7 separate regions of the Homo sapiens genome follow, and regions 1, 3, 4, 5, 6 and 7 are each linked to region 2. Evidence: promoter capture Hi-C in 16 types of primary human blood cells and fetal thymus (Javierre and others, 2016). All regions are on one chromosome and are shown on one strand. The core of a region is centred on a gene start or on the middle of the fragment in contact, and the rest is flanking DNA. Distances in the headings are between cores, read along the strand shown. Region 1 has its middle 4.3 kb from the start of TRQ-TTG3-3. Region 2 holds the start of ABT1 (activator of basal transcription 1). Region 3 has its middle 4.0 kb from the start of H2BC17. Region 4 holds the start of H2AC15 (H2A clustered histone 15). Region 5 holds the start of H4C11 (H4 clustered histone 11). Region 6 overlaps LINC01012 (long intergenic non-protein coding RNA 1012). Region 7 has its middle 17 kb from the start of TRQ-CTG6-1.

Region 1 (4,070 bases), core at 1,165-3,664, 1.2 Mb before region 2:
GGCAGGACAAAAAGGGATGAACTCCCTTCCTCTGTCAAGCCCTTTTATAACAGCATTAATTCATTCCTGAAAGCAGAGCCCTCATGACTTAAACATTTTCCAAAAGACTCTACCTCCCAACCTTGTTGCACTGGGGCTTAAGTTTCCAACACATTAATTTTGGGGGACACATTTGTACCATACCAAAGAAGGTCCTGCAAACCTGACATTCTCCCCTAGCCTGCCTTCCTCTGCAATGTTTCCATGAGTGTCGGTTGTTATAACCTGGATGTACTGATGGAATGCTTCAGGTGGGAATTTTATTTATTTATTTATTCATTCATTCATTCATTCATTTATTTGAGACGAAGTCTCGCTGTCACCCAGGCTGGAGTGCAGTGGTGCAATCTCTGCTCACTGCAACCTCTGCCTCCCACGTTCAAGCGATTCTCATGCCTCAGCCTCCCAAGTAGCTGGGACTACAGGTGCACACCACCGCACCCAGCTAATATTTGTATTTTTAGTAGAGACGGGGTTTCACCATGTTGGCCAGGCTGATCTCAAACTCCTGAGCTCAGGTGATCCGCCCACCTCGGCCTCCCAAAGTGCTGGGAGTACAGGCGTGAGCCATTGCACCAGGCCTTTTCAAGCAGAGATTTTATTGGGATGCTTGCATCTGAAGGATATATTCACAATAACAAAACTTATAAGAAAATAGTAAAGCTAGAACTCATTGTGTTAATTATAGTGGAAGATGTGCCTGGACTTAGAACTGACCACAAATTGTTAATCAGAAATTGCTTTAGTAAGTAACAAATCAAAGTAAATGAAACAGCCTGGTTACTAAGGAATAGTTTCATAATTTTGAATGGGATTAAAACTTGTCTCTCTTACTGTTGGTGGAATCCTGTCTTAAACAGCCACACAGGCAATCTAGCATGAACTAATAGTCCTTCCTTGGTTGGTTTTGGGCTGCAACTCATTGATAATCATCATGCTTAGTTTGCCTTTGTTCCAATTCCAAGCAGGCCAACCACTTTCCCATGTACATATTGTAACCACCCAAGGGGTTAACCTTGCCCGCTGCCTAGACAGAGCTGATTCATCAAGACAGGGGAATTGCAATAGAGAAAGAGTAATTCACACAGAGCTGGCTGTGCAGGAGACTGGAGTTTTATTACTCAAATCAGTTTCCCTGGGCATTTGGGGAGCAGAGTTTTTAAGGATAACTTGGTGGATGGGGGGAAGCCAGTGAGCCAGGAGTGCTGAATGGTCAGAGATTAAATCATAGGGAGTTGAAGCTCTCTTCTTGTGCTGAGTCAGTTCCTGGGTGGGGGCTACAGGATCAGATGAGCCAGTTAATAGATCTGGGTGGTGCTATCTGACCCATCTTGAGTGCAGCGTCTGCAAAATATCTCAAGCACTGATCTTAGGAGCAGTTAGGGAGGGTTAGAATCTTGTAGCCTCCAGCTGCCATAATTTTTAATCTTGTGGCTAATGTTAGTCCTACAAAGGCAATCCAGTCCCAAGGCAAGAAGGAGGTCTGCTTTGGGAAAGGGCTGTTACCATCTTTGTTTAAACTATAAACTACAAACTAAGTTTCTCCCTAAATTAGTTCAGCCTACACCCAGGAATGAACAAGGATGGCTTGGAGGTTAGAAGCAAGACGGAGTTGGTTAAATTCCATCTCTTTCTCTGTCTCAGTCATAATTTTGCAAAGGTGGCTTCAATATCTGTCATTAAATTGCTGGAATGTTACTTTATTTTGCATTTGACTATTTTTTTTTTAAATTTTTATTTGAGATGAAGTCTCGTTCTGTCGCCCAGGCTGGAGTGCAGTGGCACGATCTCTGCTCACCACAACCTCCACCTCCCAGGTTCAAGCGATTCTCCTGCCTCAGCCTCCCGAGTAGCTGGGATTACAGGCGCGTGCCACTGCACCTGGCTAATTTTTTGTGTTTTTAGTAGAGATGGAGTTTCACCATGTTGGCCAGGCTGGTCTTGAACTCCTGACCTCAGTTAATCTGCCCGCCTCGGCCTCCCAAAGTGCTAGGATTACAGGCGTGAGCCACTGTGCCTGGCCCGATTATTTAATATCTGAGAAACATAAGAGGCTAAGAAAAGCTTTGAAAGAATGTCATCTATTTTATTTATGCTTATATTATGGCCAGGTTATATTTCTTTTTCTTTTTTTTTTTTTTTTGAGATGGAGTCTCACTCTGTTGCCCTGGAGTGCAATGGTGTGATCTCAGCTCACTGCAACCTCCACCTCCCGGGTTCAAGGGATTCTCCTACTTCAGCCTCCCAAGTAGCTGGGATTACAGGCACGTACCACCACGCCCGCCTAATTTTTTAAAAGTTTTTAGTAGAGACAGGGTTTCTCCATGTTGGCCAGGCTGGTCCCGAACTCCTGACCTCAGGTGATCCACCTGCCTCGGCCTCCCACATTGATGGGGTTACAGGCATGAGTCACCGTGCCTGGCCAACCAGGTTATATTTCTATAGCCTCTCCAAATTCTGGGAACGAACCCCACTTGAGGCCTACAACACTAAATTCCCACATCCCCAAAAGATGTACTCAAATATTGGAGCAGTTAGCACAGTCCAGACTATCAAATGTGTTGACCTGAAATCTATTTTCTGTATGGACAAGAAGACTACAGACTGAGAATTTTAATAGAAGATATTGCCATTCATAAGAATTGTGCTGCAGGAAGGAAAAGAGACGAGAAAACCTACAAGCTTAACCAAGAAAATGGATCTAACCTTCCATTCAGTGGCCCCCAGATCTTCCTGTTCCTTTCCATGCAATGAACAAACATAGGAGCTAGAACCTGGTTCCTTGGTGTAAAACAAACAAACAAACAAAAAAACAACAAAAAAAAAACAGCCAAAACTGAGGATCTAAGGTCATCTTGACCTTTGTGAGATCACCACAAAGAAACAAATGCCATTTTGTCCACTGTGTGATCACAAACAAGTCAGTGACACTCATTATACCAGTTTCCTTAACAGCAAAATAGGGGTGAAAATCAGCCTCATTTTATCAGGAAGTTGTATGATTGAATAAGACAATGAATAAGATATATGTAGGACAGGCATGGTGGCTCATGCCCGTAATCCCAGTACTTTGGGAGGCCGAGGTGGGCAGATCACTTGAGGTCAGGAGTTCAGGACCAGCCTGGCCAACATGGTGAAACCTCGTCTCTACTAAAATTACAAAAATTAGCTGGGCATGGTGGCACATGCCTGTAATCCCAGCTACTCAGAAGGCTAAGGCAGGAGAATCACTTGAACCCGGGAGGCAGAGGTTGCAGTGAGCCAAGACTGCGCCACTGAACTCCAGCCTGGGAAACAGAGCGAGGCTCTGTCTCAAACAAACAAACAAACAAACAAAAAAGACATATGTAACAGGGAAATAATTATCACCATGCATTAAGAGGAAAAGAATAATATAGAAATTACTGCAAATTATATTTATAAGTGAGGAAAATCACTCAGAGCCAGTAATTTTACCTCTATATGACCCCATCAGCCAGCTTAAAGGAAATTAACTTACTTAACCAAAAAAACATTTATTGAGCACTTAATATATGAGAGACAATATATTAGCATTGAGAATACACGCTGAAAATAGCCTGCTAAAATTCCTGTTCTTATGGTACTTTGAGGTGGGATTAAATTCCATAACATGTCATCACCTTGATAAGTGGTTTAGATAAAAATACAGCAGGAAAGGGGATAGGGAGCTGGAGATTGCATTTTTAAGGAGGGCATACAAATGAGGTCTCATTGAACTGTCATTGGCATAAACTGGTGAGAGAGTATATTGCTACCTGGGGGAAGCTGTTTGGGGCAGAAGGAACTATGAGTGCAAAGTACCAGAGGCAGGCTCTGCTTAGCATGTTCTGGGAACAGCAGGTTAGGCCATAGTGGTGGGAGCAAAGACAGCCATGGGGTGGGTAAGAAGTTTTGAGCTTCATCGTTCACCTTCTTGGCTCTTAGCCCAAAATGATTCCTACATAGAGCCTCAAAAACCTGCACATTTTCTAAATAGCTGCTGAAAAAATGCACCACAAAATAAAAAAGAG
Region 2 (3,796 bases), core at 452-2,951:
CCAGGCCCTCAGGAGTCCCTGACAAGGGAAGGTCCCTCCATGCTCTCTGAGGGTGGCGGGGCTCCAAAGATCCTGGCCAGGAGCCCTTTGTTGGAGCGGGCCTTGTCCTGGGCAGTTGCCAGGCGAGCCCGTTCACGTCCCCCTGGCCGTGCTGCTTTACGGGCCCTCAGTTCCTGCTCAGTAGGACGCTGGGCAAATGTCCAGGAGCCATCTGGGCGAGCAGGGTCCCCATCGGCCGCAAGAAAGCGTTGTCCCCGTTCCACACTTTGAAGATAGAAGTCGGTCTCACGCTTGGCTTGAGCAACCTCCGCTCTCAAGCGCTGCCTGCGCACCTGGCGCTCAAAGGCGAGGTGCTCGCTGAGGTGGGACCAGGTGAAACGGTGCAAGTACTGTGGGCAGAAAAGAAGAAAAGATCAGGATAGTGCAGATTAGGGAGAAAGATGAGACAAGGGGACAAGGCCAATGAGAGGCCATGGGGATACTTGGGCCAGAGTTGGGGAGAAGGGAGGGTGAGAGGTGTGGCAGAAAGATCTATCTTCTCACCTTGAGGTTCCAAAGATCATAACGGAAGGGGCTGCGCCTGCGGGCACCCATAGGCGTGTTGTGTAGACTGGCCGCCACGCGCTTGGCTATGCGCTTGTCACGGAACTCCACCCATCCCTCGGTGTAGTCCTTGGTGTAGGACCGCTTTTTTCCTCCGGCAGCTGCTGCTGCCTTCTTCTTGCGTCTCACGAACCGGTCTGCGCGCCAAAGACAAAGACCCGTCCAGGACGCCTATGCAGCACTCACTCAAAAGCACCTCCCACTGCCCGCAACGTTCTTCACATCTGCCAGTGGGAGTCCCACCTGAAGAGTTTTTGCCCAGGAGGAAGGGAACTGTAAATCGCACCCTTTCCTCTAGCTAACTCAATTCTTTCCTTAATTGTCCACTCCTTAATCTGGCCAGCCCTGAACGCTGCTTAAAACCGGCACAAGTCCTCAGCCTCAATGTAAAATTGAGGGTGGAAAGAAGAGGGGCGGTTGATCAAATAGTTTCTTGACCTAGGCAGCAATGCTAAAGAGTTATGTTCAGTTTTGTAGAAAAGCTGACGAGACTTTTACTCAGGTTGTATTCATGTAACAAACCAGTAAACAGGTCCGGAAAGAGAGGTGAACAGAGCCGGGATAAGAACACAAATAGTAACAATCCGAGAACTAAAGAACCACCAGACACACTGCGCTACCCACTCTCCCCATATCCCCTCCGCCCGCCCACCCCAGCATCCTCACAGACTGATTCACCAGCCAGGAGCCAAGCACCGCACTCCCCACCCCCAAAATCCAGCAACTCGTGCCTCAGCCTCGCGCAGCGAAGCAACAGGACATGCATGCTTGCACCCCGCCAGCGAGCGACAACCTCCTCCTGTCACCGTCAGGGCCTGCATACTTACCCTCAGCCTGAAAGAAGACGCGTCCGACCTCGCCATAGGCGCTGAGAAGGTTGCGGACGTGCAGGGGCCGGAAGCGCGGCGGGATATGGCCCAGGTACACAATACCTGGCACTACCCGTTTCTTGCTGCCACAGGCCGCTTCTTCGGATTCCTCCTGCTCCTCCTCCGCATCTAGTGTCTGTTCTGTCCCTTCCAGCGGCTCTTGCTCCGTTGCGGCCTTCTCCGATTCCTCTGCCTCCATGTTGACTGACACGAGCGGCACGACGGCCGTAAAGTGCCTTGCCAACTGACGCAAAACGCGTGCGACGGCCTGAGACGAGGGGGCGGGTCCAAGGTGGTGATGACAAATGAAAGGAAATGATTGGGCAATACAGTCGGGTCCAGGGGAAGGCCGAGGGGAGAGGGAGGAAGTGGTGTGTCAGGTCGGAAGCCTGATTCAGAGCGTGGAAGCGGGATGGGAAACTTGGGTTAGGCTCAGATTCCCGGTCAGATCTCCAACTCAGGACAGGCAGAACCAGAAAAGGCAGATCCCCAAATATAACCTACCCTATAGAACGCCTTGTCGAGACGCTAAAAGGCGGGTTGATGCCGGCTTTTTAGGGAATTTTGCAGAACAATTTTAGAGAAGTTTCTATGTGTTCTAGCGATCAAAATAGCATTTTATTCAAGGGCCCCGGGTGCGATTCCAGCTGAGGAATGACTCACCTTTTAAAGTTTATAAATTTCATTTAAAAATTTTGAGTTTTGAGGTTTTAACTATTTCTGGAAATTTACCTCGGAATTTTGAATATTTTAAAATTTAATTTTGAAAACAGTTCAACTTTGGAAATTTAATTAGATTTAATTTTTGAAAATTTAAGTTGTGAACTTTCAGTTTAATATTTTACATTTGATTTTGTGAATGTCTGAAAATTTAAATGTGTGACAATTATTTGAAGAATTTGTTTGGCATCTATTACACGTGTGTATTGATACATTATCCATATGCATACTTATGTTGCAAATACTTGTCAGAGGCGCACAAGCCTCCAATTCTGGCGACCCCCCGGCGGCGCGCTTATTTCTGCTCTCCCTGGGTCTGTCCTCAGATTCCCTATCAGATCACAAACCACTTTTCCTTCTATGACCTACGCAACCGCAGAACGGACCGGGCCACGGCGGTCCTGCTCCCACCAGGCGGCCTGCGGACCATCCCTAAGCCAAGCTCAGGGCAGTTTTCCCCGCGCGGGCTCGGGTCCTCAGTCTCTTATCGTCGCCCGAGGGCGCGACCAGCAGGGGGCGCCGTCCCCACCCTTGAGGCGTTTCAGTTCTTCCCATCGGCGCCAGCGACAAGCTGACTGCAAAGGACAGTGCTGGGAACCGCGTACAAGTAATCCGGTTAGCTTTCTGGAAGCAGCCCGGGGCGAGTTTGATGACTATCAACATAAATCCGTCCTTGCTGCGGCCTGACAAAATTTCCCATCTCGCTCCAAGAGCGCAGAGTAGCCCAGAGAATGGAAGCAGGGAGTAAATGTGTCCACTATTAAAATCAGAGATGACAGTTTTTGCCAGTCCCCAAGTATATTTCTAAAGTAACAGGGCCCTGCACTCTTTCATGGAGTGTCTAAAAGTCTAATAATAGACTTCTCGAATTCAAACACGCCTGTTTCATTAACTTTATTGAAGAGAACTTTCTGTCAGGTAGGTGTCCACTGCTCCTTTTTTGAAGAGGAGCGGGGTACGATGAGAGCGATAAACTCCGTCTACTGCTATTTAATTATAAACACTGACATCTTCAAAACACAGTACAGTTAATGAAATGAGAACACGTGTTGGGGTGGCTTTAAAAGATCTGGAGCTAGGGGAGGGGCATGATGGATGCAAGAGTGTCGGTAAGTTGTGCCAGTGTGGTGGCTAATGGTAGCTATTAGCTATTTTCTCTACTTTGTATATATTTGAAATTATCATTAATAAAATGTTTATTCACACCAAGTATCAATATAACAGGGGGTGCTAAAGGACCGTGAAACCGACAAAAAAAAAAAAATGAAGCCTTGGGGCAGCGTGTTCTTCCCGTTCCCCACATTCCTCATGATCCCTTCTCAACTTGGTGAAAATCGAGTCCCACTCAACTGTCTGTGAAGCAACCCTTGTTAGCAATTTTCAGGGTGGATTATTTTCCTTCTCTGAGCGTCTTACAAATTCCTGAATAAGCAAGCTGCACATGCGTTCTCCAAGTTTCCTTATTTCAGGCCCAGAAGAGACACTTTTAAAAATGGAACTCCTCCGAGCCGGATTCGAACCAGCGACCTAAGGATGACCACATTCAAACCCCTACAGTCCTCCGCTCTACCAGCTGAGCTATCGAAGGATGTCATTACCCTCGT
Region 3 (4,344 bases), core at 356-2,855, 1.3 Mb before region 2:
ATATACTCAACTTGTTTACTCTGGCATGCATATTCCCATTACAATGCTCTATTCCCCCAAAATATATTTTCTTTTAGAGAGCCTCCCTCTGTTATTTACGTTGGCAGTGTAGAACTACTTTTTCCATGATTGAAACAAATCTTATCATATGTCACATTTGTTAGTGATAGCTTCATGTGATCCATATGGATGAGATCTATTTTCAGAAGCCAACTATTTCTTCTGGAAGAGACTTTGGAAATCACTTTTAGTTGAGGAAAAAGAGACCAGGAAGAACAGACAATCCAGTAAATTACATAAAATGAGGTGATGGCAGCCAGGGTGAGTAGTGGATAGAACTTAAACTTTCTAATTCCTCAAATTATTAATCCTCAGTTGCCCATTTTATTCTTTTGGATGCCAACTAAAGAGATTTTCAAACCTCAGAATTTCTTAGACACACCTGGAGACTCCTTGTGTGGGAGACTATTTCTCTGGCCAAGAACTGGTCAGGTTTGGAGGAAAAGGGTACTGAGACTAGCTTTCCTCTCTCCCCACCTCCTTTCCACATTCATCACCGGAATCATTCAGCATTTTATCAACTCTTTATAACTTAAATTCTTTCTCTATTTAAATACAGGAGTAAGGAGAAAGGGGAGTTGGAGCGACCTAGGAAGGGTACTATAATGAAAACAGGAATGGACTTTCAGAATAGATAGTGGCCTATCTGGAGGAGGAGCCAATTTCTAGTCTTTTCTCAGTTCCAATTCTGTTGCTGTTAAACTTCCCAAGATAGATAAAAATTCCTAGGAAGAATTTTCATGATTAATTGACTTCTTTCTCCTGGAGAATCTGCATTTAGTCAAATAAAGGAGATTGAGAAAAAGCCCCTCTCTGTGCATTTGCTATTTCCCAAATAACTTTAGTGGGAAGTAATCAGCATAACAATGCGGCATACTTTGGGATGATATTTCCTGGACTCCTTCAGTATACATTATAGAGGCAAGAGGCCAGGCACGGTGGCTCACACATGAAAATCCCAGCTTTCAGAGGCCAAGGTGGGTGGATCACTTGAGTCCAGGAGTTCCAGACCAGCCTGGCCAACATGGTGAAACCCCTTCTATGAAAAGCACAAAAATTATCTGGGCATGGTGGTGCATACCTGTGGTCCCAGCTACTTGGGAGGCTGAGACATGAGGCTTAAGCTTGGGAGGTGGAGATTGCAGTGAGCCGGGATCATGCCACTGCATTCCAGCCTCAGCAACAGAGTGAAGGCAAAAAAAGGAAAAGAAAGAAAAACTCCTTGAATTACATTACACAGTAAAGGAAAGCTTCCCCTTCACCCTCTGAAGGTTTGCTGAAAATCACTGACTAAAGGCAGATGAATAGAAGAAAAAAAAATTATTTGATCACAGTTGTACGTGACATGGGAGCCCTTCAAAATGAAGGCCTAAAGATACAGGGGAAATTGTCCATTGTTTTTAAGGTTCTATAAAGTATGGACAGCCTTGTAGAAATGAATGGACATGAAGGGTAGGATCTAATGATAGTAAACAGAGTAGGGAAACCCAGCAAGGCCTGTCTGTCCAGATTCTTCTTGGCCTCTCTGAGCAGCATTCCTTCCTTCTGGGTATGGGGCAGGTCCCTCTCTGGAATAGGGGTCTTATGACCTACAGTCAAACAAGGTAGGGCAGATAATTTCTGACCATAAATGGCCAGTTTTCATACAAAAAGCCTTGGGGAATAGGGTGGGTGAGGGGAGCTAGAGTAATATTTGTAGGTTTTACGGCTGGCTTTGGGGAAAAAGGATTCTGGTTTTTATGACCTGCCTTGGGGAAGAGAGATTCTAGTTTCTGTGGCTAACCTTGAGGGAGAATGATAGATCAGAGACGGAAGGGCAGGAGGTCAGGGAAAAGCTTCTGCTTCTGAGGCTGCTGCTGAGGCCTTCATTTTGGGTTATAGTTTCTGAGCCCCAACAATATATCAAAACATCACACTCTGTCAAAAATGTATACAATTATGATTTGTCAATTAAGAATAATATTAATAATAAAAAATAGTGTTACAGCTCTTTTAGAATTTGTCTAGCAGGCCTTCTGGTTTTTGCTGGGAAGTCCCCACCCCCACAAAGAATAACATTAATAAAAAAGTAAGAAAATGTAACATAAATAGAAAAGAACTGGCTTATTTACCCAGGTAACTACTCAATCCACAATGAACAACTCCAAATACCTTTCACCACTTTTACCTCATAGCTGTGAGAACTGAATTTTTTGTTTTTTCTTTTAGTTCACTGTATCTGTTTACTTAACTAGCAGAAAATAACTCTTCAATGCCTGATGTATGTGAGGCCTGATGCTTTATCCAGAGGGGCCAAGTGAGGAATGAATTATTTTCAGCTGAGAATTTAGAAAGTTGGGAAGGCCGGGGCATTTGATCTGGGCCCTGATGGCAGAAAGAGCAGCTTGGTGAAAAGCTTGTCATGGATACAGGAGTCTTTGTTAATGTCCAGAGATCTCAACTTCAAGGATGAAGGGCTTCATGAGATCTCTACTTTAGAGGTGAAGGACTTGATGAAGTCAACAGACATTTTTTTTTAATAGTCTGTACCATGATATATATATTTTATTAGCTCTCAGTATTGAAAATTTATAATATTTCACATTAAGCTGCATATACTCTTGAAAAATTGGAAGTCACACTGTCCTTGTGCTTGCATTGCTAGAAGGGAGAAATCAGTGAAATCAAATTGCACAGGTTTTGTCTTCAGTTCTCAAGTTACCACTGGTCCTGTTAGTTTCCATATTAGTTGGCATTTATCAATATGCTTGTGCTATGGTTGTTCTTACAGCAGAATTAAGAAAACAGTGAAATATATCTTGGTCAAGTATCTCTATCAAAACTGGAAAAATGAAATATGCCAGAAGTCTGGGTGTTTCAAGAAAAATAGCAAATAGCACCTCTCTTTATAGAGATAAGGCGTGCTTTTTAATATCCAGCTGTTTTTGCTCTAATGTGCTGGGCCTTTGTTAGCAACTGACTTTTAACTTCTGGTTTAAGGAATATCATAACTGTCACCTTATCTGCAAATTAAGCTAAATGTAGATATTTTATAAAGGAGAACTTGGAATAGAAAGTCGGGATGAAAGCATGGAAAATGGTCTTAAGTGCTGTTATGGACTTCATTGTGTTCCCCCAAAACAGACCAGGTGCAGTGGCTCGCGCCTGTAATCCCAGAACTTTGGGAGTCCAAGACCAGCCTGGACAACATGGTGAAACCCTGTCTGTACTAAAAACACAAAAATTAGCTGGGCGCTGTGGCAGGTGCCTGTCTGTAGTTCAGCTACTCAGGAGGTTGAGGAAGAAGAATCACTTGAACCCAGGAGGTGGAAGTTGCAGTGAGCCGAGATTGCGCCACTGCACTCCAGCCTGGGCGACAGAGTGAGACTCTGTCTCAAAAAACAAAACAAAAGAAAACAACTTCATGTCGAAGTCCCAGCCCTCAGTGTGGTTGGTATTTGAAGACAGGGCCTTTAAACAGATAATTAAGGTTAAATTGAGTTGTAAGTGTGGGGACTTAATCTAATAGAACTAGAAAGCACGATCGTATTATTATTTATTTTAGGGTATAAAGCATTTTGGCTTTTTTTATTTGTTTATTTCTTTTGGACAGCTCTGACCAGATCACAAAGCTCAACAGGACTTTCTCCTTTACCCACTCCTCGCTCTTCCTATTAACTCCCCCGCCCCCCTCCCGCTCCCTTTTAACCTCCGCACTAACAACTCTTGAAGAAACTTGAATCCTGCAATTAAAAGGAGTGAAAAATGGAAACCCTGCCCTAGCCCACTGACTCAGTAGAAAGTTAAGAAGAAAGCATTTTAACTGGGGCTGGAAAACACAACGCCTTGAACTTGTGCTTTTGCTTTTTTGCCACAAGATGGCAGGAGAAGGCCACACGTACTCTCTCACCCACTCGGAGGATAATCACCCCTCAGATGTTCTCTCAAGGACGCGGGATGGGCAGGGAGAAACGAATCTCGAAAAAGAGAGCGAAGAGGAATGAAAGGAGGGGGCAAATGTGATGCCAAGTTAAAGAACATGATGAAATCAGGGGACTGCTCTCCAAGTAACTTAGCTTGTCGATAAGCTCTGTCGCCAAGCCCGAGGCACCAAACTTTAATGACAAGGTACGGGGACTGGGGAAGAGAACATTTTAGGGAAGTGAACGGCAAATCCTACAATGTATTTTGAACGACCCACTAACCAATTGGCATAATTCGGGGCTGTTTGTCACCTGTGACAGAGACGAGACTATTCGTCCGAGATAGCCTTCCACCCATAGCTGCAAAGGAAGTGACGTCAGG
Region 4 (4,023 bases), core at 813-3,312, 1.2 Mb before region 2:
TTGCATGTGTGCAAAATATTCTTTCATGTAAACAGCTAGGAATCGAATGGTTGGGTCACTGGAGTACACTTACTGGATAAAAAATATTATCAAAAACCTTCAGCAAATACAATTTGATGTGGAAGAGTTCCCACACTGATTCTTGGCAAAGACCAAAATACTTTTAAATATGCCACTCCTAAGTGTTTAAAATGAAGACACTCATTTTGATTTCCTGAGTTGGGGGTGGGGGAAAACAATGGAGAACAGCCCTTCTCCTCCTCTATTTTTTTTTCTTTTAACATTTCTTCCAATTACTAGAGATACAGTAAACGCAAGTGACACAGACAAGAAAACATGGAGCAGACCCTAACAGAAAAAGTAGGGAATAGAAACTATGTTCATAAATAGGAATTCCACACAAGAGAATTATGGGAATGAGTAAGACAGCAAGATTCCTCCAAAAAACCTGCACTGCCAAGAATTTTCCCAACTAGAACACTCACCAGAGAAAACGGTGGCCAAGTTTCAAACTGCCCTCGCAGTGTCGGGATTGGCCATTGACATCAACTCAGCCCGATTGACGTGTACGGTGCTGTAAACTGGGTTCAAACTTTTTTCTACTGCCTTTCTATCTTAATATTTAGCAAATCCAAACTGGGGACAAGGGAGGAGAAACAGCACCACTCTCAAAACAAACAAGTCGATTTGTACGTTTGTGTGTGTGCCAACTGCTTCATTACTAAAGTACACATGAAGTTTAGGGACAGAGCGCCGGAAGCACTGTGGATATTTTACCAGTGACACTTAAGTATTATATTTTCTTTGGGGTCAACAGGAACTGAATTTTCCCTTTACTAGGTTTGTCTGATGATAAACCTCATCCTTCTTCAGATATAAAATTGTCTCAAGCGTTGCTGCAACATGCAGTACACTGCAGTGCTAATTAATTTCTTTTCTTTTTCTTTCTTTTTTGAGACAGAGTTTCGCTCTTACTGCCCAGGCTGGGGTGCAATGGCCCGATCTCGGCTCACTGCAACCTCCATCTGCCGGGTTCAAGCGATTCTCCTGCCTCAGCTTCCCGGGTAGCTGGGATTACAGGCGTCCGCCACCACGCCCAGCTATTTTTTTGTACTTTTAGTAGAGACGGGTTTCACCATGTTGGCTAGGCTCGTCTCGAACTTCTAACCTCAGGTGAGCCACCCGCTTCGGTTTCCCGAACCGGGATTAGAGGCTTGAGCCAAAATTAGTTTCTAACAAGGCTAAAGGAATCTTGGAAATCGTCTTTGTAGCAAGTAAGAAATACCTGCTGTAAGAACAGTGAGTGCCAGTTCTCTTTGGGAAGACTGAGTGGCTCTGAAAAGAGCCTTTGGGGTGTGGGCCGAGACTGACCGAACGTTCCGCGGTGGGCGGGCTCACTTGGAACTGGTGTACTTGGTGACGGCCTTGGTGCCCTCCGACACCGCGTGCTTGGCCAGCTCCCCTGGCAGCAGCAGGCGCACGGCCGTCTGGATCTCCCTGGAGGTGATGGTCGAGCGCTTGTTGTAATGCGCCAGGCGGGAAGCCTCGCCGGCGATGCGCTCGAAGATGTCATTGACGAAGGAGTTCATGATGCCCATGGCCTTGGACGAGATACCGGTGTCGGGGTGGACCTGCTTCAGCACCTTGTACACGTACACGGAGTAGCTCTCCTTGCGGCTGCGCTTGCGCTTCTTGCCGTCCTTCTTCTGGGCCTTTGTCACTGCCTTCTTGGAGCCTTTCTTCGGGGCAGGAGCGGACTTTGAGGGCTCGGGCATGACTGGGAGTAACTGCCGGAAAATTGGAGGAAAAAAACAGGAAGACGGTAGCTCTGTCAACCTACCGCTTATTCACTGCTTCTTAACGCAAGTGGGGTAGAGAATGAAGTTGTGCGTTTAACCAGTGGTGAGTCCTGGAAACGTATATTAACTTTGTCCAATCAAAATAAGTGTTTTTCAAAACCGCAATCCCATTGGTTAAAGCGAAACTGTAATGTTAGCCAATAGCACAGCTTAGTTTTCGTGCCTCTGTTGACTATAAGTAGCGGAGCTTTAGCGTTACGTCAGTCTCAGGAACGTTACTGATTGAATTTTTTACGTCATGTCGGGACGTGGCAAGCAGGGCGGCAAAGCTCGCGCCAAGGCTAAGACCCGTTCTTCAAGGGCGGGTCTTCAGTTCCCAGTGGGCCGAGTGCACCGACTGCTCCGCAAGGGCAACTACGCTGAGCGGGTCGGTGCCGGAGCGCCGGTGTACCTGGCGGCGGTGTTGGAGTACCTAACCGCCGAGATCCTGGAACTGGCTGGCAACGCGGCCCGCGACAACAAGAAGACCCGCATCATCCCGCGCCACTTGCAGCTGGCCATCCGCAACGACGAGGAGCTCAACAAGCTGCTTGGTAAAGTGACCATCGCCCAGGGTGGTGTCCTGCCCAATATCCAGGCCGTGCTGCTGCCTAAGAAAACTGAGAGCCACCACAAGGCCAAGGGCAAGTAGCGGGGCTGGAGCAGTTCATTACTCATACCTCGGTCCAAACCAAAAAGGTTCTTTTCAGAGCCACCTACTTTTTCACCAAGTAGAGCTGTGTTCAGTTTTATCTGATAGTCGAGTCATTTTGCAATGGCACTGGAATGCTGTATGGAGATGAAGCAAAACTAAACGGCTTTTACACCACATTGTTTTGAGATAGAAAGTAGACATTGAAATGTTTACGGTACATCAAGAAATTTAGGCGCGGCAGCTCGCGCCTGCAATACAGCTGAAACAATAAGAAAAGTGAGGCAAGAGAATAACAAAGGGAGCTGAAAGTTAGAGGGCAGAATAAGTAAAAGCAAAGGGCAGAAGTAAGGTAGATGGGCGGGTGAACAAGAAGCGAGATAACAAGCAGTGAACCTTTTGCAGCCGAAACAAAAGAGATAATGTGAGCAAGGACCTCGTGGCCGGCAAGATCTGGAACAAACCAGTTTAAGAGGCAGCTCTTCAGAGATGGGCATGCGTATTAGAGAGGAAAAGTATCCTTAACAAAAGCCCGTATGATAATCAGCTACTTAAGGTTCATGCATATGGGCTACATATCATGCATATATTTAAGATTATAAGATAGAGGCACAAGCCACAGAGGACAAAGTAAGCAACAAACCTATCAATAAAAGGGCAGATGCTGGCTATAGATTAGGCAGCACTGGGAACAGAAAACATACACACACGCACGCACACACATAAAATGACTCAAACTACAGCAAGCTGACGCTGATCTCACCTCGCAGAGGTCAGTCCGCTCTCTCCCACCCCCGAGAGTGTAATACTCTGTTTACTAAACTTTTGCTGCTTTGCTTTGCTATCTGTGTGTGTGTCGTCCAATTTCTACCGGGCACCAAGAGCCTGGAACTGTTTGGCACCATCCGGTAAACAGAACCGCTTTGGGAAGCCGAGGCGGAAGGACCGCTAGAGCCTTGGAGTTCGAAGCCAGCCTGATCTTTACAAAAGTAAAATAACTAACCGTGCCTGGCGTCTCATAGCCTGTAGTCCTAGCTACTCGGGAGGCTGAGACCAGAAGGATCACTTGAGCCCAGGAGTTCGAGGCTGCAATGAGCTATGATTGCACCACTGCAGTCCAGCTTGTGTGACAGAGCAAGAGTGTTTCAAATGAACCTAGTGTCAGATATTTACTTTCTGTATTACAGAGGACTGAAAGCTAGCTAAATAATACTTTTCAGTGTACCTGGGTTCCAGAGATAAAATTGGTAAACTAACCTTTGCTCCTTACTTGGGCTTTTAGTTTATACTTCATAAGACCATGGAAGCAAAATTTAGGTATCTGACCCTTCTGCACAATTTAGGACCCCGTGTGTGTTTGGCCTACCTATTCGAGTTCAATTGAATCTTTCTGAGCATCTATGGTGTGCCAGGCACTCTCCTAAATGGGAATACAATATTAATCCAGATACATAAAGTCTCTATCCAAAAGGAGCTTCAAGTTGGCTTGGGCAAAGAATACATGTCATAATGGACTGTTTATATAAATGATGG
Region 5 (3,766 bases), core at 1,267-3,766, 1.2 Mb before region 2:
ACCGAAACCGTAGAGGGTGCGGCCCTGGCGCTTGAGCGCGTAGACCACATCCATGGCGGTGACCGTCTTGCGCTTGGCGTGCTCTGTATAGGTCACGGCGTCCCGGATCACGTTCTCCAGGAACACCTTCAGCACCCCGCGAGTCTCCTCGTAGATGAGGCCGGAGATGCGCTTCACGCCGCCGCGGCGAGCAAGGCGCCGGATGGCCGGCTTGGTGATGCCCTGGATATTGTCGCGCAGTACTTTACGGTGGCGCTTAGCGCCGCCTTTGCCAAGACCCTTCCCGCCTTTGCCGCGGCCAGACATGACGAGCAAGAGGAGTCTCACCCAACGCTTTGTGAGGCCTCTGGCCTGAGGCAGCGCCTTTATACGACAGTTGGCGGACCGAACTGAGAACCTGAAAGAAGTCGGCGGGAAGTCCCGCCCCGGTGGGGGAGGGGAAATCTAAAGGGCCAAACCGAAATAGGGGGGAAAAAAAAGCGAGCTTCTTGTTTCCGTGTTCTGAATTTTGTAATGTGCAAAGTATTCTGTTACCACGTTATGAGGCTTTAAAAAATTGCTTTTGAACGCAGAAGATATACATCAATACTGTGGGGAATACAAAAAAGTGACCGGGCTCGGTGGCTGACGTCTGTGATCCCACCATTTTAGGAGGCCGAGATGGGAGTGTACCTGGGCGTCAGGAGTTTGAGATCTGCGTGAGCAAAATAGCGAGACCCCATCTCTACCAAGACAACAATTAAATTAAATTAAAACATTAGTCCAGCATGATAGCGCTTACACTTTAGGAGACACTCTTTTTTTTAAATATATTAAAAAAAAAAACCAGTACAGTAACAACAGCCTGTTATCCCATCTTCCCATCACACAAAGAGCTCTACTGCTAGCTAATAAGATAATTTGGTGAGCAGATAAATGCACATTTTTTCCCACAAAATGTATGCAGTATATGGCATTTTACAACTTCGCGTTGTTTTAATCAATTTCCCTTATTTAAAAAGTTTACAAAAGTGATTTTAATGTCTTTATTATTTCTTCTCCTGAATTCTGCCTGCTACAGTGTTAACCAATTCCCTAGGAATTTATTAATCAACCAGATTTTTTAAATAATTCATCTTTTCCCTGCGGATTAAGTACCACCTTTAACATTATACATACTCGGAACTATTACCAAAATTCTATTCTGTCTATAATTTAATCAAGGTGGTTTGCCAAAGGGAATCTATGTTCACGGTTAAAAGCTTAGAAAATTCACATTAGGAAAAATTTTAAAAGCAGTAATTTATATCTGCTTAATATTCCATCATAAGAATTTTCTAGGTCCACTTTCACAGTATTTCTAGTACTTAGCAATAATGTGCTAATTTTCTTTTCCTAATTTAAAGGAGAACTGTACAAAATTTACTTCCTGAGGAAAATGTAGAATTGAAGCGCTTTGTCACAAAGGATGCAGATTTTAAGGTATTTTGATAACTGTTACTACATTTTCCTCAAAAGTTTTATTCCATTCACTTTTGCCAGCAGTAACTGCTGTGTATGTTTACCAGCATTGAGTATTATGGTTTTTAAATTCTATGTTACATTCAGAATTTACTTTTAGTTTTGTTGATTGAGTCTTGAGTTAATGAACTAGTTACCCAGCAAGATTTATTGATTTGTTTATAAGTAATAAATTGTCATCTTTAATATAAGCTTGTTTAGGCCGGGCGCGCTGGCTCATGCCTGTAATCCCAGCACTTAGGGAGGCTGAGGCAGGCAGGTCACTTAAAGTCAGGACTTCGAGACCAACCTGGCCAACATGGTGAAACCCCGTCTTTACTAAAAATACAAAAATTAACTGGGCGTGGTGTCACATACCTGTAATATTAGCTACTCAGGAGGGTGAGGCAGGAGAATCTCTTGAACCTGGGAAGCGGCGCTTACATTGAGCCGAAATCACACCACAGCACTCCAGGCTAGACAACTGAGTGAGACTCCATCTCAAAAAAAAAGAAAAGAAAAGAAAAGAAAAAAACAATAAGAAACCTAAAAATTTTATTTTTTCGTGTAAAAACTGGCCACAAAGAAATTATTTGACTTACCTTGTTTGACTGTAAGTCGTAGGACCTCCGTTCCAGAGAGGGCCCTGCCCCATATACAAAAGAAATACTACACAGAGCGCCCAAGAAGAATCTAGACAGGCCTGGCTGGGTTTCCCCACTCAGTCTCTTAGCATTAGATCATACACATTATGTCCAGTCATATTTCTACATAGCTGTCCATACTTTGTTGAACCTAAGCATAAAAATGGACAATTTCCCCTGTATCTTTAGGTCTTCATTCTGAAGGCTTCTGCGTACATGTTAAATAAATGTGTATGCCTTTTCTTCTATTAATCTGCCTCTTGACAGTGATTTTCAGTGAAGCTTCAGAGTACATAGGGGAAGCTTTCCCTGTGCCCCAACAAGTTCAATCATATGGTCAATGATTCAATCAATCCTGCCTATATAATAAAACCCTCATAAAAGCTCTGGATACCAAGGTCAGGGAGTTTATTGGTTTGTGAACACATAGATATCCTAGGGAGGTGACTCCTGGTTCCACATAGAGATGGCACAGAAGCTTTGCTTTCAGGACCCTTCCAAGCCTTGCCCTATGCGTCTCTTCATCTGACTGGTCCTGATTTGTATTCTTTATGATAAAACTATAATCATAAGGACAGCACTTTCTATATTCTATGAGTCATTCTAGCATATTATTGAACATGAAGGGGTAGTGGGAATCCCTGGATTTGAAGCCAGTTGCTCAGAAGAGCAAGTGGCCTGGGAACCCCACTTGCAGCTGGCGTCTGAAGTTGGGACAGTCTTGTTGGGAAATGTGCCCTTTAACTGGTGAGGTCCAGCTAACTCCAAATAATCAGTGCCTGAATTGAATTGAAGTACATCAGTTGGTGTCCAAATAACTAGAAAGAAATTCATGTACGTAGTTAAAAATTTAGGAAATTCAGATTAGGCAAACTGAAAAAATATCTATAAATCACAGTCCGAAGATTATTCTATTAACTTTATGATACCTATCTATTGCAGTAGTCGTCTTTTCATATATTTAATATTTTTTACATGCATGGATACACTGTGGAATTCTTTTAACTCTAAAGAAAGTGTAATCTTGACACAATTTAAAATGTAATTTCTTTGTTTTTTAGTGTTTCCATGTAAATATTTACTTTGGAGAATAGTGAGTTCAGCCTCTGCAATCAAACAAACCTAGACTGAAATTGTGGCTTCGTTGCAGATACTTTTGCTGTTTTTGTCTTAATTTCCTCATCTTTTTAATGAGAGTAAAGGCAATCAGAGTTACTCCACAGGATACTTTAGGAAATAATGGAGATAATTGAGAAAAATGGCTAGACTAGCTTAGTAGATCTCACTAGTCACATATAGAAAATTTATATTTACTGTTTATTAATATTTTATTGATATTCAATTACTTAACTTTTTGTATATATTTAAATTCACATTTATGCTATTTGCACTAGTCCAAATAAAGTACTTAACAATTTTTATGTCATTTAAATTTCTAATATATTTGAATAAATGCTTAGAGTTTTATGTTTTGATATAACTTCTAAACAGCTATTAGAATATATTAATAGCTAAAATAAAAATCAAATATAATCAAATGAAGGCTTTTTTTTTTTTTTTTTTTTTTTGAGACAGAGTCTCGCTCTGTCGCCCAGGCTGGTGTGCAGTGGCTTGATCTCAGCTCACTGCAACCTCCACCTCCC
Region 6 (4,007 bases), core at 206-2,705, 1.1 Mb before region 2:
CCAGCTACATGGGAGGCTGAGGCAGGAGAATCGCTTGAACCCAGGAGGCAGAGATCGTGCCACTGCACTCCAGCCTGGCGACACAGCGAGACTCCATCTCAAAAAAACAAACAAACAAACAAAAAAATGATTAAGATGCTAAATGTTATGTGTATTTTATTACAATTGTTTTAAAAAGGTCCATATTTAAATCTCATTCCGAAAAAGGTAAGTCTTGAGCAAGCCCTGACTCTACCAGAACCCAGTTCACAACCACATCCTCAAACACCCAACGTTCTTTTTTTTTTTTTTTTTTGAAGAGACAGACTGGAGCACAGCGGCACAATCATAGCTCACTGTAACCTCGAACTCCTGGGCTGAAGCAACCTTCCACCTCAGCCTCTGGAGTATCTAGGACTATAGGTGCAAGCCATCACACTCCACTAATTTTTTTTTATTTTTTTAATTGAGGGAAAGAGGGATGGGGTGGGTGTTCTTGCTTTGTTGCCCAGGCTGGTCTCCAACTCCTGGCTTCAAATGATCCTCCCACCTCAGCCTCCCCTAAAGTGCTGGAATTAAAGGCATAAGCCACCAAGCCTGACCTATCCCATATTCTTAAAACGTACCCCATGATCCTGCTTTTCTAAAGAGAAGGCCACACATGCACAAAAATGCATGCAAGGAACGACCAGCCTGGCCAACATGGCCAAACTCCATCTCTACTAAAAATACAAAAATTAGCTGAGTATGGTGGCATGCGCCTATAGTCCCAGCTACTCGGGAGGCTGAGGCAGGAGAATCACTTAAATCCAGGAGGCAGAGGTTGTAGTGAGCTGAGATCGCAACACTGCACTCCAGCCTGGGTGACAGAGCGAGACTCCGTCTCAAAAAAGAAAAAAACAACAAGTATGAGAAGATTCATAAAAAGATGTTTATGCTTGTTTAAATAAGGCTGAAGAGAAATGGAAAGAAGGGTAAGTGTAAAGTGGCGGTTAAGAGAAAAGTCTGCTGGGCAAGAAACATCTCATTCATCTATAGAAGGGTCTTGCAATTCCTGAGTAGATGCATGTGACTAGTGGTGTGCTAGGCAGGGTCTAGCCCAAGTGAAGGAGATTGGGGCAGCTGCCATGAAGCAGGCAGATCCTGGAAAGGTGGGATATTACCTAGGACTCGACTCTGACATTTGCTACAGCATCACCTGGTCTCCTGATCTCCCTTTCTGAGCAAAGCAGGTCTATAAAAAGAGAAAGAAGTTATCAGGAATAACCTAGTGCTAGTTCTGCTCACCCAGGCCAACTCCCATAAAAGTCATTTCTGCACAATTCAGCTGCAAATAAACCTTCTCTCAATATATAAGCACCATCCAAATCCACCACCCGATACAAAGCAGAGTAAAGGCAAAATGCTCAACAAGGTGGCAGGACCAATATAAATTTAAACATGAATGGAAGAGTGGATATGTTTACAATATGTTAGCTCATCATACAACACACAAAAAAATTTTTCTTTTCTGAGACAGGGTCTTGCTCTGTCACCCCGTCTAGGCTCCGTCGCAGTCACAGCACACTGCAGCCTCAACCTCCTGGGCTCTAGCAATCCTCCCACTTCAGCCTCCTGGGTAGCTGAGACTACAGGCACACACCACCACGCCCGGCTAATTTTTTTTTCTTTTTTTTTGAGACGGAGTCTCGCACTGTCGTCCGGGTTGGAGGACCAATATAAATTTAAACATGAATGGAAAAGTGGATATGTTTACAATATGTTAGCTCATCATACAATACAAAAAAAATTGTTTTCTTTTCTGAGACAGGTCTTGCTCTGTCACCCCGTCTAGGCTCTGTCGCAGTCACAGCACACTGCAGCCTCAACCTCCTGGGCTCTAGCAATCCTCCCACTTCAGCCTCCTGGGTAGCTGAGACTACAGGCACACACCACCACACCCAGCTAATTTTTTTTCTTTTTTTTTGAGACCGAGTCTCGCACTGTCGTCCGGGTTGGAGTGCAATGGCGTGATCTCGGCTCACTGCAACCTCTGCCTCCCGGGTTCAAGCAGTTCTCCTGCCTCAGCCCCCCGAGTAGCTGGGATTACAGGCACCCGCCACCACGCCCGCCTAATCTTTTGTATTTTTAGTAGAGATGGGGTTTCGCTATATTGGCCAGACTGGTCTCGAACTCCTGACCTCGTGATCCGCCCGCCTCGGCCTCCCAAAGTGCTGGGATTACAGGCATGAGCCACCATGCCCGGCCGCCCAGCTAATTTTTAAATTTTTTTGTAGAGACAGGGTTTCGCCACGTTGCCCAGGCTGGTATCAAACTTCTGAGCTCAAATAATCCACCTGCCTTGGCCTTCCAGCGTTGGGATTACAAGTATAAACCATGGCACCCAGCTAAAATGTGATTGTTAATCTATGTTCATCTGACCTAAAGAAATGTGACACTTTAGGAAAAAACAGACATTAGCTATTTAATAAAACAAAATTTTTCTGTGTAATAGTGTTATATACAGGGAATGAAGGAAAAATATGTTTCTTCAGTTATATGTTTACTGTATATATATATGATTATGTGTGTATATATTTATATATAAAGCTATATATATAGTTAACTGTACATATATAATTGTGTGTGTGTATATATATGTGTATGTATATATGATACATACACACAGTTATTCACTGCATTGTTTGTGGTGGTGAAAGATTAGAAACAACCTAGTGTCTATCACCAGGAAATGAGTAAAGCCCAAGTGTTCATCACCAGGAAATGGCTTAAATATATTATGGTATATCCATATACAAATGAAGACACTGTATATTAATATAGAAATCTCTTAAGATAGAGTGTTGTGAAAAAAGTTGGAAAGTATGCCACCTAACAAATAAATAACAGTGAAAATAGCCGGGTGTGGTGGCTCACACCTGTAATCCCAGCACTTTGGGAGGCCAAGGTGGGCAGATCACCTGAGGTCAGGAGTTCAAGACCAGCCTGGCCAACATGGCGAAACCCAGTCTCTACTGAAAATACAAAAATTAGCTGGGCCCAGTGGTGCACGCCTGTGATCCCAGCTACTCAGGAGGCTGAGGCAGGAGAATCGCTTGATCTCTGGAGACAGAGGTTGCAGTGAGCCGAGACTGCACCACTGCCCTCCAGCCTGAGTAACACAGCCAGACAACCTCTCAAAAAAAAAAAAAAAATATTCTATCATTCTTTTTTTTGCAACAGCTTCCAGGAAGTCAGCTTTCTTCTCCTTTCACTAGCTTTTCTCTTCTTCCCTCTACCATAAGCACATACATACAAGATTACTTTCAATGTCAGTAAAAATATTCTTTTAAAAGCCATTTTTTTTTTTTTTTTTTGAGATGGAGTCTCGCTCTGTCACCCAGGCTGGAGTGCAGTGGCGCGATCTCGGCTCACTGCAAGCTCCGTCTCCTGGGTTCACAACATTCTCCTGCCTCAGCCTCCTGAGTAGCTGGGACTAAAGGCGCCCGCCACCACGCCCGGCTAATTTTTTGTATTTTTAATAGAGACAGCACTTTGGGAGGCCAAGGGGGGGCGGATCATGTGTTAGCCAGGATGGTCTCGATCTCCTGACCTCGTGATCCGCCCGCCTCGGCCTCCTAAAGTGCTGAGATTACAGGCGTGGGCCACCGCGCCCGGCAAAAGCCTATTTTGAAAGAGGTTTCTTATTTTCTTATTTTTTTTTTCTGAGACAGGGTCTCACTCTGTCACCCAGGCTGGAGTGCAGTGGCGCGATCTCGGCTCACTGCAACCTCCGCCTCCCGGGTTCAAGTGATTCTCCTGACTCAGCCTCCTGAGTACCTGGGATTACAGGTGCAGGCCACCATGCCTGGCTAATTTTTATGTTTTTAGTAGAGACGGGGTTTCACCATGTTAACCAGGATGGTCTCGAACTCCTGACCTCATGATCCGCCCCCACCTTGGCCTCCCAAAGTGCTGGGATTGCAGGCGTGAGCCACCGCCTGAAAGAGGTTTCTTTTAAGAGTCTGTTTTTACCAGCCAATGTCAAC
Region 7 (4,082 bases), core at 1,037-3,536, 1.2 Mb before region 2:
CCAGGTTCTTGACACCTTCGTAAGAAAGAATTCAGGGAGGAGTCAGAATGAAGCCAAAGGCAAGAAGCTTTTATTGCTAAGCAAAAGTACACACTTAGGGAAGTGTGGGTGAGCTCATGAGAATGAGTCGTGCCCAACAGAGTTTGAGTTTTCTATTTTTATGGGCTCTTGTAATTAGAGGGTGGACTAATCATGAGGTTTTCTGGGGGAAAGGCGAAGGTTTCATAAAATTGAGATGCCACCCATTTTTATATTAAATATGGGCGTACTCGATCTGTCAGGGCGCTGGTGGGTGTGTAATTTCGTATGGTAATTAGCATATAATTAGGTCTTGGGTAGGGCATGGGTCAAATCCAGCGCCATGTTGGACCCAGACGGTTTCAGACAGCTTAGCCACCATCCTGTTTGTTAGGGTCTTATCAGCCCAAGTTCTTTCTTGTCCTTGTAGCTAATTTTAACAGCTCCTTTTTTGCTGTTATGTGAAATTACTGCTTGATGTTTCTCCTATGACTACCCAGCATTCCTATCAAATAGAGATGAGATTTATCACCTTCCTTGTTCCCCTGGCCCTCTCACTCCACTAGCATGAACCCTTCAGTGACTCAGGTGCCTGATCTCAGCCTCTTTCAGAAAATAATCTGAGTGGAAAAACATTTTTATAGCCGCAAGCCAGGACTCCTCCCCTCCCCTCCACCAAATGCCCTATTTTCCTCTCAAAGGGGTTTAGGTCTGTGTTGCATGGGCCTTCTCTGTGGGGAAAAGCAAGAGAGATCAGATTGTTACTGTGTCTGTGTAGAAAGAAGTAGACATAGGAGACTCCATTTTGTTCTGTACTAAGACAAATTCTTCTGCCTTGAGATTCTGTTAATCTATGAACTTACTCCCAACCCCGTGCTCTCTGAAACATGTGCTGTGTCAAACTCAGGGTTAAATGGATTAAGGGCGGTGCAAGATGTGCTTTGTTAAACAGATGCTTGAAGGCAGCATGCTCGTTAAGCGTCATCACCACTCCCTAATCTCAAGTACCCAGGGACACAAACACTGCAGAAGGCCGCAGGGACCTCTGCCTAGGAAAGCCAGGTATTGTCCAAGGTTTCTCCCCATGTGATAGTCTGAAATATGGCCTCTTGGGAAGGGAAAGACCTGACCGTCCCCCAGCCCGACACCTGTAAAGGGTCTGTGCTGAGGAGGATTAGTATAAGAGGAAGGCATGCCTCTTGCAGTTGAGACAAGAGCAAGGCATCTGTCTCCTGTCCGTCCCTGGGCAATGGAATGTCTCGGTATAAAACCCGATTGTACGTTCCATCTACTGAGATAGGGAAAAACCGCGTTAGGGCTGGAGGTGGGACATGCGGGCAGCAATACTGCTTTGTAAAGCATTGAGATGTTTATGTGTATGCATATCTAAAAGCACAGCACTTAATCCTTTACCTTGTCTATGATGCAAAGACCTTTGTTCACGTGTTTGTCTGCTGACCCTCTCCCCACAATTGTCTTGTGACCCTGACACATCCCCCTCTCGGAGAAACACCCACGAATGATCAATAAATACTAAGGGAACTCAGAGGCTGGTGGGATCCTCCATATGCTGAACGCTGGTCCCCCGGGTCCCCTTATTTCTTTCTCTATACTTTGTCTCTGTGTCTTTTTCTTTTCCAAGTCTCTCGTTCCACCTTACGAGAAACACCCACAGGTGTGGAGGGGCAACCCACCCCTTCATTCTCTCTTCACTAGAAAACCAGTGAGGAAGTGGAAGGAGGAGACTGAGCACCTGCCATGTAATATGCAGTGGTGTACCTCACTTAATGTGCAGCAGGAAGAGCCGCAGACAAAACCCCTCAGACACCGAGTTAAAGAAGGAAGGGGTTTATTTGGCCTGGAGCATCGGCAAGACTTCTGTCTCAAGAACCGAGCTCCCTGAGTGAGCAATTCCTGTCCCTTTTAAGGGCTCACAACTCTAAGGGGGTCCACATGAGAGGGTCGTGATCAACTGAGCAAGCAGGGGGTGCATGTTTGGGGGCTGCATGCACCAGTAATCAGAACGGAACAGAACAGGACAGGGATTTTTACAATGCTTTTCCATACAATGTCTGGAAACTATAGATAACATAACCAGTGTTAGGTCAGGGGTTAATCTTTAACTACCAGGCCCAGGGCGTGGCGCCGGGCTGTCTGCCTGTGGATTTCATTTCTGCTTTTTAGTTTTTACTTCTTCTTTCTTTGGAGGCAGAAATCGGGCATAAGACAATATGAGGGGTGGTCTCCTCCCTCATTCGCTCACCTCATTAAAAGTGATGAGGCTGTCTTTGTCTTACAGATGAGAAGACTGAGGCATAAATCTGTGACCCTTCACCTGTATGTTTCAATTTCATGTCTATGTTTATCAGGATGCTTTTTTGTTTGTTTGTTTTTGCAGAGGGTGGGGAACAGGGTCTTGCTCTGTCACCTAGGCTGCAGTGCAGTGGCACGATCATAACTCACTATAACCTTGACCTCCTGGGCTTAAGTGATCCTCCTACCTCAGCCTCCCCAGTAACTAGGACTACAGGCCCACACCACCACACCTGGCTAATTTTTTTATTATTATTTTTTGTGGAGATGAGGTCTCGCTAGGCATGAGCCACGAGACCTATTCCTCGTTTTTGAAAGGTAAAGGATCCGACACTTTAGAAGAAAGGTAAAGGAGGAATTTTTAGAGAAACCAGTTCAAGAGAAGCTGTTAATGGTACTTACAGGAAACATAAGTGTTTGAACGACAAGGCTGGAAAAGAATTAATGCACCATGGGACAATTATCATAACGAGAGTGGTAAGGAGATGGAATGGAGAGTTGGGGGGAAGGAGAAATCAGCAGTTTCCCAGATCTGGAATTACAACAGGGCCCCAAGTTCCCATCCCACCATCAGGAAAGATACCTGGTGAGAACCTCAAATAGACCTGCTGATGTTTCTTCAACACTGCCTTGCACGTCCCTTTCCTCGTGTTCATGTGGGGACCTGCAGGTCATTAAACTACAAATCAGTCTTACCTGCTTCATGAGGAGCTTTTTCCCAAGAGACATTTAGCAAAGAGCTTGGGCGATATCCTTAGCGCTGTAGTGGTGGACAGAGCTTTCCTCCGAGCAGTCTCATGGGCAGAGCTTTCCTCCAAGCAGTCGGAGAGCTTTCCTAAGCTCCTAACAGCTCCTAAAGGAGCTGTTAAAATTAGCTACAAGGACAAGGAAGAGCTTGGGCTGATAAGACCCTAATAAACAGGATGAGGGCTAAGCTGTCTGAAACCGTCTGAGTCCAACGTGGCGCTGGATTTGACCCATGCCCTACCCAAGACCTAATTATATGCTAATTACCAAACGAAATTACACACCTTCAGAGAGCTTTCCTCTGACTGCTTGGAGGAAGCTCTGCCCACCACAAATGCAACGAGTAACCCTGGCACCCAGTTGCGTTTCCGCGGCTTGCTAAAGGCCTGCTCTCCAAGGCTGCCAGGCCTTGCTGAGTTTGCACAAAGAAACGCGGCCCGCGGTAGCAGGCGTCCGGCTTCCTGGGGCGCGCCGCCTGGTGGAGACTGCGGGGAAGGAGCCACAGGAGCTGGTAACTCGACAGCTGATTCTTGTTTGCTGAAAAGGTGCTTTGAAAAGTGACTCTCACGTTAGCCTTTGGTTGCTGCTCTTCTTACACATCACGAGTAAGGCCCTCCTCCCCTCAGCGAAGACTCTACAAATCAAGAGGCCAGGATGAGGTTGGTTAAGGATTGGTTAGTGTCTGCATGACGGGTATAGGCCAGGAGGGAGGCTGAAAATGCACTGCGGGTCTATGGTCATACCACTCTGAACGCGCCCGATCTCGTCTGAAAATGCACCGCGGGAGATTCACAACTGTCAATACGTGGGACAGGATTGTAGCCGGCAGGTTCGAACCTATGCAGACAGGCTTAATTATATTTTCATCACCTTAAGCATCCAGAGGCTGCACCACATTGTCAGCTAATCACTTCATGTTGTGTTGTCTTGCCGGTTGTATCTGTTTTAAAGCTAAGTAAATTTAGGGATGGGGGTTGTTGTGGACTGAACTGTGTCCATCAAAA

Evidence for each region. Contacts are between HindIII fragments. The CHiCAGO score rates a contact against its expected background, and 5 or more counts as called.
Region 1: a contact is called between a fragment that was not itself captured here and the fragment with the promoter of ABT1 in region 2, in 1 of 17 cell types (M1 macrophages). The highest score is 5.4, in M1 macrophages.
Region 3: a contact is called between a fragment that was not itself captured here and the fragment with the promoter of ABT1 in region 2, in 2 of 17 cell types (M0 macrophages and non-activated CD4 T cells). The highest score is 7.9, in M0 macrophages.
Region 4: a contact is called between the fragment with the promoter of H2AC15 here and the fragment with the promoter of ABT1 in region 2, in 1 of 17 cell types (M0 macrophages). The highest score is 5.8, in M0 macrophages.
Region 5: a fragment that was not itself captured here is called in contact with the fragment with the promoter of ABT1 in region 2 in 1 of 17 cell types (total B cells); the score reaches 5.6 in total B cells.
Region 6: a contact is called between a fragment that was not itself captured here and the fragment with the promoter of ABT1 in region 2, in 1 of 17 cell types (M0 macrophages). The highest score is 7.0, in M0 macrophages.
Region 7: a fragment that was not itself captured here is called in contact with the fragment with the promoter of ABT1 in region 2 in 1 of 17 cell types (M0 macrophages); the score reaches 5.4 in M0 macrophages.

What each region holds. Positions count from the first base shown.
Region 1 is chr6:27,798,174-27,802,243 of GRCh38, reverse strand. No RefSeq gene overlaps it. Among named protein-coding and RNA genes, the nearest start is that of TRQ-TTG3-3, 4.3 kb to the right of the region's middle. The HindIII fragment of the contact is 618 bases long and covers 2,106-2,723 here.
Region 2 is chr6:26,594,858-26,598,653 of GRCh38, reverse strand. It overlaps ABT1 (activator of basal transcription 1), which reads right to left and starts at 1,701. Exons shown (of 3, transcript NM_013375.4): 1 at 1,431-1,701; 2 at 544-740; 3 at 1-389. The coding sequence starts at 1,671. The coding sequence ends at 9. TRY-GTA6-1 (tRNA-Tyr (anticodon GTA) 6-1) reads right to left here and starts at 3,780; the gene lies at 3,692-3,780. RefSeq lists enhancers at 1,413-1,852, 2,410-2,569, 2,670-2,819. The HindIII fragment of the contact is 8,276 bases long and covers 1-3,796 here.
Region 3 is chr6:27,895,259-27,899,602 of GRCh38, reverse strand. It overlaps the pseudogene RNU7-26P. Among named protein-coding and RNA genes, the nearest start is that of H2BC17, 4.0 kb to the right of the region's middle. RefSeq lists a cis regulatory region at 3,795-4,079. The HindIII fragment of the contact is 585 bases long and covers 1,313-1,897 here.
Region 4 is chr6:27,836,414-27,840,436 of GRCh38, reverse strand. H2AC15 (H2A clustered histone 15) reads left to right here and starts at 2,062. Exons shown (of 1, transcript NM_003510.3): 1 at 2,062-2,557. The coding sequence starts at 2,098. The coding sequence ends at 2,490. H2BC15 (H2B clustered histone 15) reads right to left here and starts at 1,868. Exons shown (of 1, transcript NM_003520.4): 1 at 1,327-1,868. The coding sequence starts at 1,775. The coding sequence ends at 1,395. RefSeq lists enhancers at 1,617-1,826, 2,157-2,246, 2,317-2,426, 2,697-2,746, 2,817-2,906 and 3 more. The HindIII fragment of the contact is 16,643 bases long and covers 1-4,023 here.
Region 5 is chr6:27,820,665-27,824,430 of GRCh38, reverse strand. H4C11 (H4 clustered histone 11) reads right to left here and starts at 339. Exons shown (of 1, transcript NM_021968.4): 1 at 1-339. The coding sequence starts at 306. RefSeq lists enhancers at 1-186, 480-619. The HindIII fragment of the contact is 175 bases long and covers 2,429-2,603 here.
Region 6 is chr6:27,696,803-27,700,809 of GRCh38, reverse strand. All of the region lies in intron 1 of LINC01012 (long intergenic non-protein coding RNA 1012), which reads right to left. Among named protein-coding and RNA genes, the nearest start is that of LINC01012, 4.8 kb to the right of the region's middle. The HindIII fragment of the contact is 6,157 bases long and covers 1-4,007 here.
Region 7 is chr6:27,772,097-27,776,178 of GRCh38, reverse strand. No RefSeq gene overlaps it. Among named protein-coding and RNA genes, the nearest start is that of TRQ-CTG6-1, 17 kb to the left of the region's middle. The HindIII fragment of the contact is 4,434 bases long and covers 70-4,082 here.